Regions from separate parts of the Homo sapiens genome. Here region 1 is linked to region 2. Evidence: promoter capture Hi-C in human tissues and cell types (Jung and others, 2019). All regions are on one chromosome and are shown on one strand. Each heading gives the region's core, a stretch centred on a gene start or on the middle of the fragment in contact. The rest is flanking DNA. Distances are from core to core; before and after follow the strand shown.

Evidence for each region. The method cuts DNA at HindIII sites, captures the fragments that hold promoters and counts their contacts. A contact is called where the count stands out against the background at its distance.
Region 1: a contact is called between a fragment that was not itself captured here and the fragment with the promoter of ZSCAN1 in region 2, in 2 of the 25 tissues and cell types used here (neural progenitor cells and spleen).

The regions. Positions count from the first base shown.
Region 1 is chr19:57,923,340-57,927,228 of GRCh38, reverse strand. ZNF418 (zinc finger protein 418) reads left to right here. Exons shown (of 6, transcript NM_133460.3): 4 at 1-1,606. The coding sequence ends at 1,079. Among named protein-coding and RNA genes, the nearest start is that of ZNF417, 8.7 kb to the right of the region's middle. The HindIII fragment of the contact is 9,147 bases long and covers 1-3,889 here.
Region 2 is chr19:58,032,558-58,036,332 of GRCh38, reverse strand. It overlaps ZSCAN1 (zinc finger and SCAN domain containing 1), which reads right to left and starts at 2,308. Exons shown (of 6, transcript NM_182572.4): 1 at 2,172-2,308; 2 at 322-363. The HindIII fragment of the contact is 19,074 bases long and covers 1-3,775 here.

The DNA of each region.
Region 1 (3,889 bases), core at 570-3,069, 110 kb after region 2:
AATGTGGGAAATCTTTTAGTCAAAATGGTACTCTCATTAAACATCAACGAGTTCACACTGGAGAAAGACCTTATGAGTGTGAAGAATGTGGGAAATGTTTTACTCAGAAGGGCAATCTCATTCAACATCAACGAGGTCACACTAGTGAAAGACCTTATGAGTGTGAAGAATGTGGAAAATGTTTTAGTCAAAAGGGCACCCTAACTGAACATCATCGAGTTCACACTAGAGAACGACCTTATGAGTGTGGAGAATGTGGGAAATCTTTTAGTCGAAAGGGACACCTTAGGAACCATCAGCGAGGTCACACTGGAGAAAGACCTTACGAGTGTGGAGAATGTGGGAAATCTTTTAGTCGAAAGGGCAACCTCATTCAGCATCAGCGAAGCCACACTGGAGAAAGGCCTTATGAGTGTAGAGAGTGTAGGAAATTATTTAGGGGCAAGTCCCACCTCATTGAACACCAGAGAGTTCACACTGGAGAAAGGCCATATGAATGTAATGAATGTGGGAAATCATTTCAAGACAGCTCTGGGTTTCGTGTTCATCAGAGAGTTCACACTGGAGAAAAACCGTTTGAGTGTAGTGAATGTGGGAAGTCATTTCCTCAAAGCTGTTCCCTCCTTCGACATCGGAGAGTTCATACTGGAGAAAGGCCTTATGAATGTGGAGAATGTGGAAAGTCATTTCATCAGAGCTCTTCCCTCCTTCGACATCAGAAAACTCACACTGCAGAAAGACCTTATGAGTGCAGAGAATGTGGGAAATTCTTCTCCAGTCTCCTTGAACACAGGAGAGTTCACACTGGAGAAAGGCCTTATGAATGCAGGGAATGTGGAAAAACATTTACTCGAAGGTCTGCGCATTTTAAACATCAGAGACTTCATACTCGAGGAAAGCCTTACGAGTGCAGCGAATGTGGGAAATCCTTTGCTGAAACCTTCAGTCTTACTGAACACAGGAGAGTACACACTGGAGAAAGGCCTTATGAGTGCAGTGAATGTGGAAAATCATTTCATCGAAGCTCTTCTCTCCTTCGACATCAGAGAGTTCACACAGAAAGAAGTCCTTACAAGTGAAAAGAAATTTGGGAAATTCTTTAGCTAAACCTCTGTGCATCTTCTTGATCAGAGGGTTCTTACTGGATCAGGACCTTATGAGTGTGACAAACGTGGGATATTCTTTATGCAGAAGTCTTGTTTTATTACATACAGAAGAGCTCCCACTGCAGAAGGGCCTCTTGAGTGCGATGAATGTGAGAAAGCCTTCTGCCTTCTGTCATTGGATAACAGATTGTTCTCATAAGGAAAACACTGTACACGTACAGGAAATATTATTTCTTGTAAAACATAACACTGGAGGAGATGCCTTATGACGGAGCCATCTGCCTAAATTGACATACCTTCAGCATCTGCATAAACTCAATTATGTTGGAGCTGTGTGGCATTTTTCACCCTGCCGGGTTCCCTTGCCAGACATGATGTCGGTTATCTGGCAAAAGCCATTTTATGTCGGCCACGAGGCAGGTGTTCACTGTGCATCATTCATTCACCCCATGATGTTCTGGAAGTAAACCTTGGTTGTCTTTCGTTGGCCAGAGGAATTGGTGAGTAGTCTCAGCTGTCATTCCTTTCTCATTTCTTTCGGATGAGCGAGACCATGGATCTGTCTCAGTACTGGTCCAGAGGGGTCTTCTGTCAGCTTGAAAAGATGGACTACCTTTTTCAGGGACCTTATGGGTCTCATGTGATATTTTTTTTTTTTTTTTGAGACAGAGTCTCGCTCTGTCGCCCAGGCTGGAGTACAGTGGCGTGATCTCAGCTCACTGCAAGCTCCGCCTCCCGGGTTCACGCCATTCTCCTGCCTCAGCCTCCCGAGTAGCTGGGACTACAGGTGCCCACCACCATGCCCAGCTAATTTTTTTGTATTTTTAGTAGAAATGGGGTTTCTCCGTGTTAGCCAGGATGGTCTCGATCTCCTGACCTCATGATCTGCCCTCCTTGGCCTCCCAAAATGCTGGGATTACAGGCGTGAGCCACCGCACCCAGCGGGTCTCATGTGATTCTTTAGGCTCTTAAGTTCCAACCAAAGAACATTCTGCTTCCCATTGCTCTGATTTGTGCAATGAATAAGGCCTTATTGTTTAAGCTTCCTTCAGTCTTGAGAGTTGTATTTACTCTTTCGGGTGGTTTGGAAACAACTGGGTTCTGGTGTCATAAAGGGGCAGACAGCTTTTGTTGGGATCACTAGACTTTGTGTGCCTCAGAGGGGACAGTATGATGACAGAATATACTGTCTCTTCACTTGTGGCATAGTTTTCATGGCTGCCCAAGGCCTCCAAAGACTCCAGAACTTTGTGGTCCTTATTTGTTGACTAGATACTCCAATAATTTCTGGGTTTATAGATAAACCTGAGAAGGGAACAGTGTTTGTGACATCCTCTGATGCTTCTGAGATCGACACGAAAATTTCCTCTCTTTTACAAGGGATATTGCATTCTGCTCAGTACTGCTGAGGGAAATCTGTTCCCTAGGTCCTGGAATGCAGCCATGTGCTCTGATATCCAGAGTTTCGTAGTGTGGTGTCCCAGGTTATGAGATTATAACAGGAAGTCATAATTTATAGAATTTCTGCATTTATAGGCAGTGGAGGACACTGCAAGAACAGAGTTGGAATGCACGTCATCCACATTGATTCAGTTACTATGTATGTGGTGGACTGTCAGGTACAGAAATTCTCAGAACCTCCATAATTATGAATCTTGTGTAGCTGAGGCCATTGTCAAAGGAAATAATATAAAGGATTCGTGGATTCCTGTACCCTTTCTCGGCTGTTCACCTCAAGGCAATTCCTGCATTGGCAGGAGGAAGAGGATAGGGAGAAGGGAGATCTCTTAGTCCAGTGATGTGGTCTTTGTGACCAACCAGTGTTCCAATTTAATCAGGTGAAAATGGCCTTCCTGGCTTATCAGTATTTGCTGCCGCAGAGACTCATTGCTGCACTTAGGACATGAGGAGATTTTGTATAGTTGTCAAGCATGTTTGTCAAAAATAATAGAAAATCCATGTTTTTCTTTTTTTTTTTTTCTAAGACAAGGTGTTGCTCTGTGACCCAGGCTGGAGTACAGTGGCGAGATCATAGTTCACTGCAGCCTCGAACTCCTCAAGCAATCCTTTTCCCTCAGCCTCCCAAAGTGCTGGGATTACAGGCCTCAGCCATCATGTCCAGCCCACATTTTTCTTTTGAATCAATTCTTTAAAGCCATAATAAGGAATAAATGACATTCTGTAAACTATACATATTTAAACTGTACCATGTGGTAAGTTTAGACTTTCATAGAAACCCATGAAAGTGGCCAGGCACGGTGGCTCACGCCTGTAATCCCAGCACTTTGGGAGGCTGAGGCAGGCGGATCACGAGGTCAGGAGATCGAGACCATCCTGGCTAACATGGTGAAACCCCGTCTCTACTAAAAAAATACAAAAAATTAGCTGGGCGTGGTGGCAGGCGCCTGTAGTCCCAGCTACTCGGGAGGCTGAGGCAGGAGAATGGAGTGAACCCGGGAGGTGGAGCTTGCCGTGAGCCAAGATCGCACCACTGTACTCCAGCCTGGGTGACAGAGCAAGACTCGGTCTCAAAAAATATATATATATGTGTATATATGTGTGTGTGTGTGTGTGTGTGTGTGTATGTATATATATGTATATATGTATATATGTGTGTGTATATATGTATATACATGTATGTATATGTATGTATATATGTATATATATGTGTGTATATATGTATGTGTGTGTATATGTATATATATATATATTTTGCATCCCTTGGCATAAATGGGTTAGGTAAGTGTGTCACTAAATAGAAAAATACTCCCGTCTGCAATGAA
Region 2 (3,775 bases), core at 1,059-3,558:
GGAAAGCACTGTGGCCATTTATATATCAAGAACACTTGGTAGACTGCGTGCAAGATGCGAGATTCAGGCACCAAGATTCACTACAAAAGTGCCCAACAGTTGAACGTGGTGGGATCAACTACCTCCCCCATCATGTGATGGGAGTATTCAACCGTGCCCAGTACACAACACTATGACATGACCACGGGGAGTAGACACATGATGTACAGATGACATGAGGCACAGGGAACGTGGGATGCAGGATGATGCGTGAGTGTCATAGAAAGGGAGTCCTGGGAAGACGCCCATGGGGGGCGGCCAAGTGCTTTGTGCTGTTCATACTTCTCTGAATCTCCTCCAAATGGTGTCGGGCTCCCATGTGACCTTCATCAACATGGAAAAACAAAACAAAACAAGACATCTTTAGGAAGGATTTTTGACCATATGGGAAATGCTTATGACAAGTGAAAAGGAGGGATTCCATGGGATTTTTCCCTCTTCATCCTCTGCTGCATTTTTCATACACTCTGCAGTTCTCGTGCATCTGGTTTTACAATCCAGGAGAAAGGAGAGGTGCAGGGTGGCAGAAAGGCAACTCACGGGGACTGTGCCCAGCCAGCCATCTTCGAGTCAGCGTACCCGGCCACCTGCACCCTGATTGGGAAACTACCAGCTTGGTCTTCCCTGCCAAGGCCACAGGCAAAAATGCTCTCTTATGTTGTATTCACACTTTTATATATGTAGTTTTGAATAAGAAAAAAGGGCCTATTTTGAAGCTCCACAGGTTCAAGAAATCCCTTTGCCCTGGGGCCTCAGACCTTATACTCTCTCAGGTGCTCATGGCAGCTCACCCTGGAGACTCTAGGGAGGGGGGCTGTAGCCCCTCAGCATCCTCCAGGGTCCTGGGCTGAGGTCTGTGGGAGGAGATGCTAAGTTTATCAGGGATGAGGGTAAAGAGGAGGTCTTAGCAGAAGGCACCAGAGGTCCATGGGTGTGTCTGGGGTCTATATGGGGGCTGATGTGGAACACCTAGGCCAATGTGGGGGTACCTGAGCTGATGAGAGTCCTGGACTGATGGGTGGCTGTTTCTGGAAGATGAAGAGGGCCTGGGATGATGTGAAGGGGACTGAGGTCTACATGGCTGGTGAGGAGGATCTGGGCCCCCCCATGGGCAATGCTGTGGTGGCCCTGGGGTCCTAGAAGTCTACTTTGGTAGGGGTCTCTGATTAATGTTGGGGATGTGTGTGTGTGAGAGAGTGTCACTTGGAGGGCTCAGTGCCTGTGGAAGGGCCAGGTTCACCTGGCATGGGCACTGAGATCTGCAGCCCGAGCCCCAAATTCTATTGCGGGGATGGGCAGAAGGGCTTTGCCGCTGATGCCGGATGCTTAGTGACATAGAAGACGTGTTCACTGCGCCAGTCAGTGAATGGTTCTGGCTTTGAGAAGGGGGCTTACAGTGGGGAGGGCGTTGGGAGCTTAGGATGCCACACGGAGGAGTTCCATAATAAACGAGCTGGGGAAGTGTGCAAGGGCAGCGCACTGGGAATACAGGGGAGGGGCAGCGACGACGGCTGTGGACGGCTGGTTGGGGGGAGGATGGTGGGGTGATTGGGTGGGGGATGGGTCGGGGGCGGCTGTTCAGGAGGGAGATGGGCCTGGGGCGGGGAGGGGGAGCTTGTAGGGAGAGAGACGGGTCGGGGGCTGCTGTTCCAGTGGGGGATGGGCCCAAGGGGCCGGGTAGGGAGGGAGATGGGTCCGGGGGCGGCTGTTCAGGAGGGAGATAGGTCCCGGGATGCTGATCAGGTGTGGAAGGGAGAACTTGGACGCGGCCGAGCGGTGTTTGGGCGGGCAATGGGGGTACGTAGAGGGGCTTCGGCCTCAAACGGACAGGCGGATGCCAACAGGGGTCGGGGTCCCTGCGGAAGGGGCGGCCCCAGCCCCCCCAGTCCCCGCCCCGCGTGGCCTCTAGCCTTCCCCTTCCCTCCCCTACGGCGACCTCAGGACTCCCGATGGGCTCTGGAACCCCGGCCCGGCCCGCCCCCTCCCGGGCCCGGGCCCGCCTCCCCCGACGCGCGCCCCTGGACCGCGATCCCGGGCCAGCTCCCGCCGACGCGGCGCCGAGACCCTCCCGGGTGGGCGTCCCGATGGACGCTCTGGCGGGCGGAGGGACGGATGGGCCGCGGCGGACTCACCGCGCGCGGGCTTCGCTCGGGCCTGGGCCACTCGGTCATGGCGACCCCTGGGCTGGCGAGCGCGCCCAACGCCGCGGGCGGACCCCATCCCCGCACCCTGCGCGCCGCGGGCGGCCGCCATTGGTCCGCTGGATCACGCCGGGCGTCGGTGACAAGTCACCGCTGCGGGACTCCCGGGCAGGGGCGGGGCTGTGACGCACGAGGCGGCCGAGGCCAATCAGAAGCCGCCTGGGATGAGCGCCCCGCCCCCGCCGTGCCCTCCAGTTACCTCGGGCCGCGGTTCCAGTCGCCTTGGCAACGGGTCGCGCAGCGTCAGGGACGCTGCTGCGGAAAGTGGAGACGGTGGCGGCTGCGGGGATGCGCATGTACGATGGGGCCGCGGGGCAAAACGACGGCATTCCAGACACGCAACCGTTTTATACAGTGTCCAAGAGTAGTATGTTAAAACATTGTTTTTAATATAAATATGTTTAGTACAAGTATGTCCCAGACTAGGATCGCCACTCTTAGCAAATAAAAATACAGGACGTCGGCCGGGCGCGGTGACACGCCTGTAATCCCAGCACTTTGGGAGGCCAAGGCAGGCGGATCACGAGGTCATGAGTTCGAGACCAGCCTGACCAATATGGTGAAACCCCCGTCTCTACTAAAAATACAAAAATTACCTGGGCGTGGTGGCGCATGCCTGTAATCCCAGTTTCTCAGGAGGCTGAGACAGGAGAATCACTGGAACCGGGGAGGCGGAGGTTGCAGTGAGCCGAGATTGCTCCATTGCACTCCAGTTTTCCAGCGTGGGTGACAGAGCGAGACTCCGTCCCCCCACCCCCAAAAAAAAGAAAGAAAAAAGAAACCTCAGTTATATGTAAACTCAAGAAAAACAAGGAGGCCGGGCGCGATAGCTCACGCCTGTAATCCCAGAACTCGGGAGGCCGAGGCAGGCGGATCACCTGAGGTCGGGTGTTTCAGACCAGCCTGGCCAACATGGTGAAACCCCGTCTCTACTAAAAATACAAAAATTAGCCAGGCATGGTGGTGCGTGCCTGTAATCCCAGCTACTCGGGAGGCTGAGGTAGGAGAATCGCTGGAACTGGGGAAGCCGAGGTTGCAGTGAGCCGAGACCTGCCAACGCACTCCAGCCTTGCCTGGGCAACAGAGTGAGACTCTGTCTCAAAAAAAAAAAAAAAAAAAAAAAAAGAAAGAAAGAAAAAGAAAAACAAGGAATTAGTATCAATGTGTCCTATATTTCATATACTTTAACGAAACCTTACATAAGAACATTTCATATAAATAAGTTTTAATATTAATGTCTACAATGTAACCATGTGCCAGAATAGTAGGGTTCCACAGATACTCGTTTTGTATCTGAAATCAGGTGGGGGTGAGATCATGATGCAAGGAGGGTCCTCAGCTCTGGGACTGAGCTCAGGATAGCTGAAGCTGCTCATTGCTGAAGAAGAAGCAGGAGAGTGTGAGCTAAGAAAAGAGAGGAGGACCCACCTCCAGGGGGTCCAGCATCTGCTGGACAGCTGTTTATTGAGGGCCTATGTGTACCAGGCACTGTTCTGGACACTGGGGTGGGAGCACATCAGTGAGAGGGACTGATA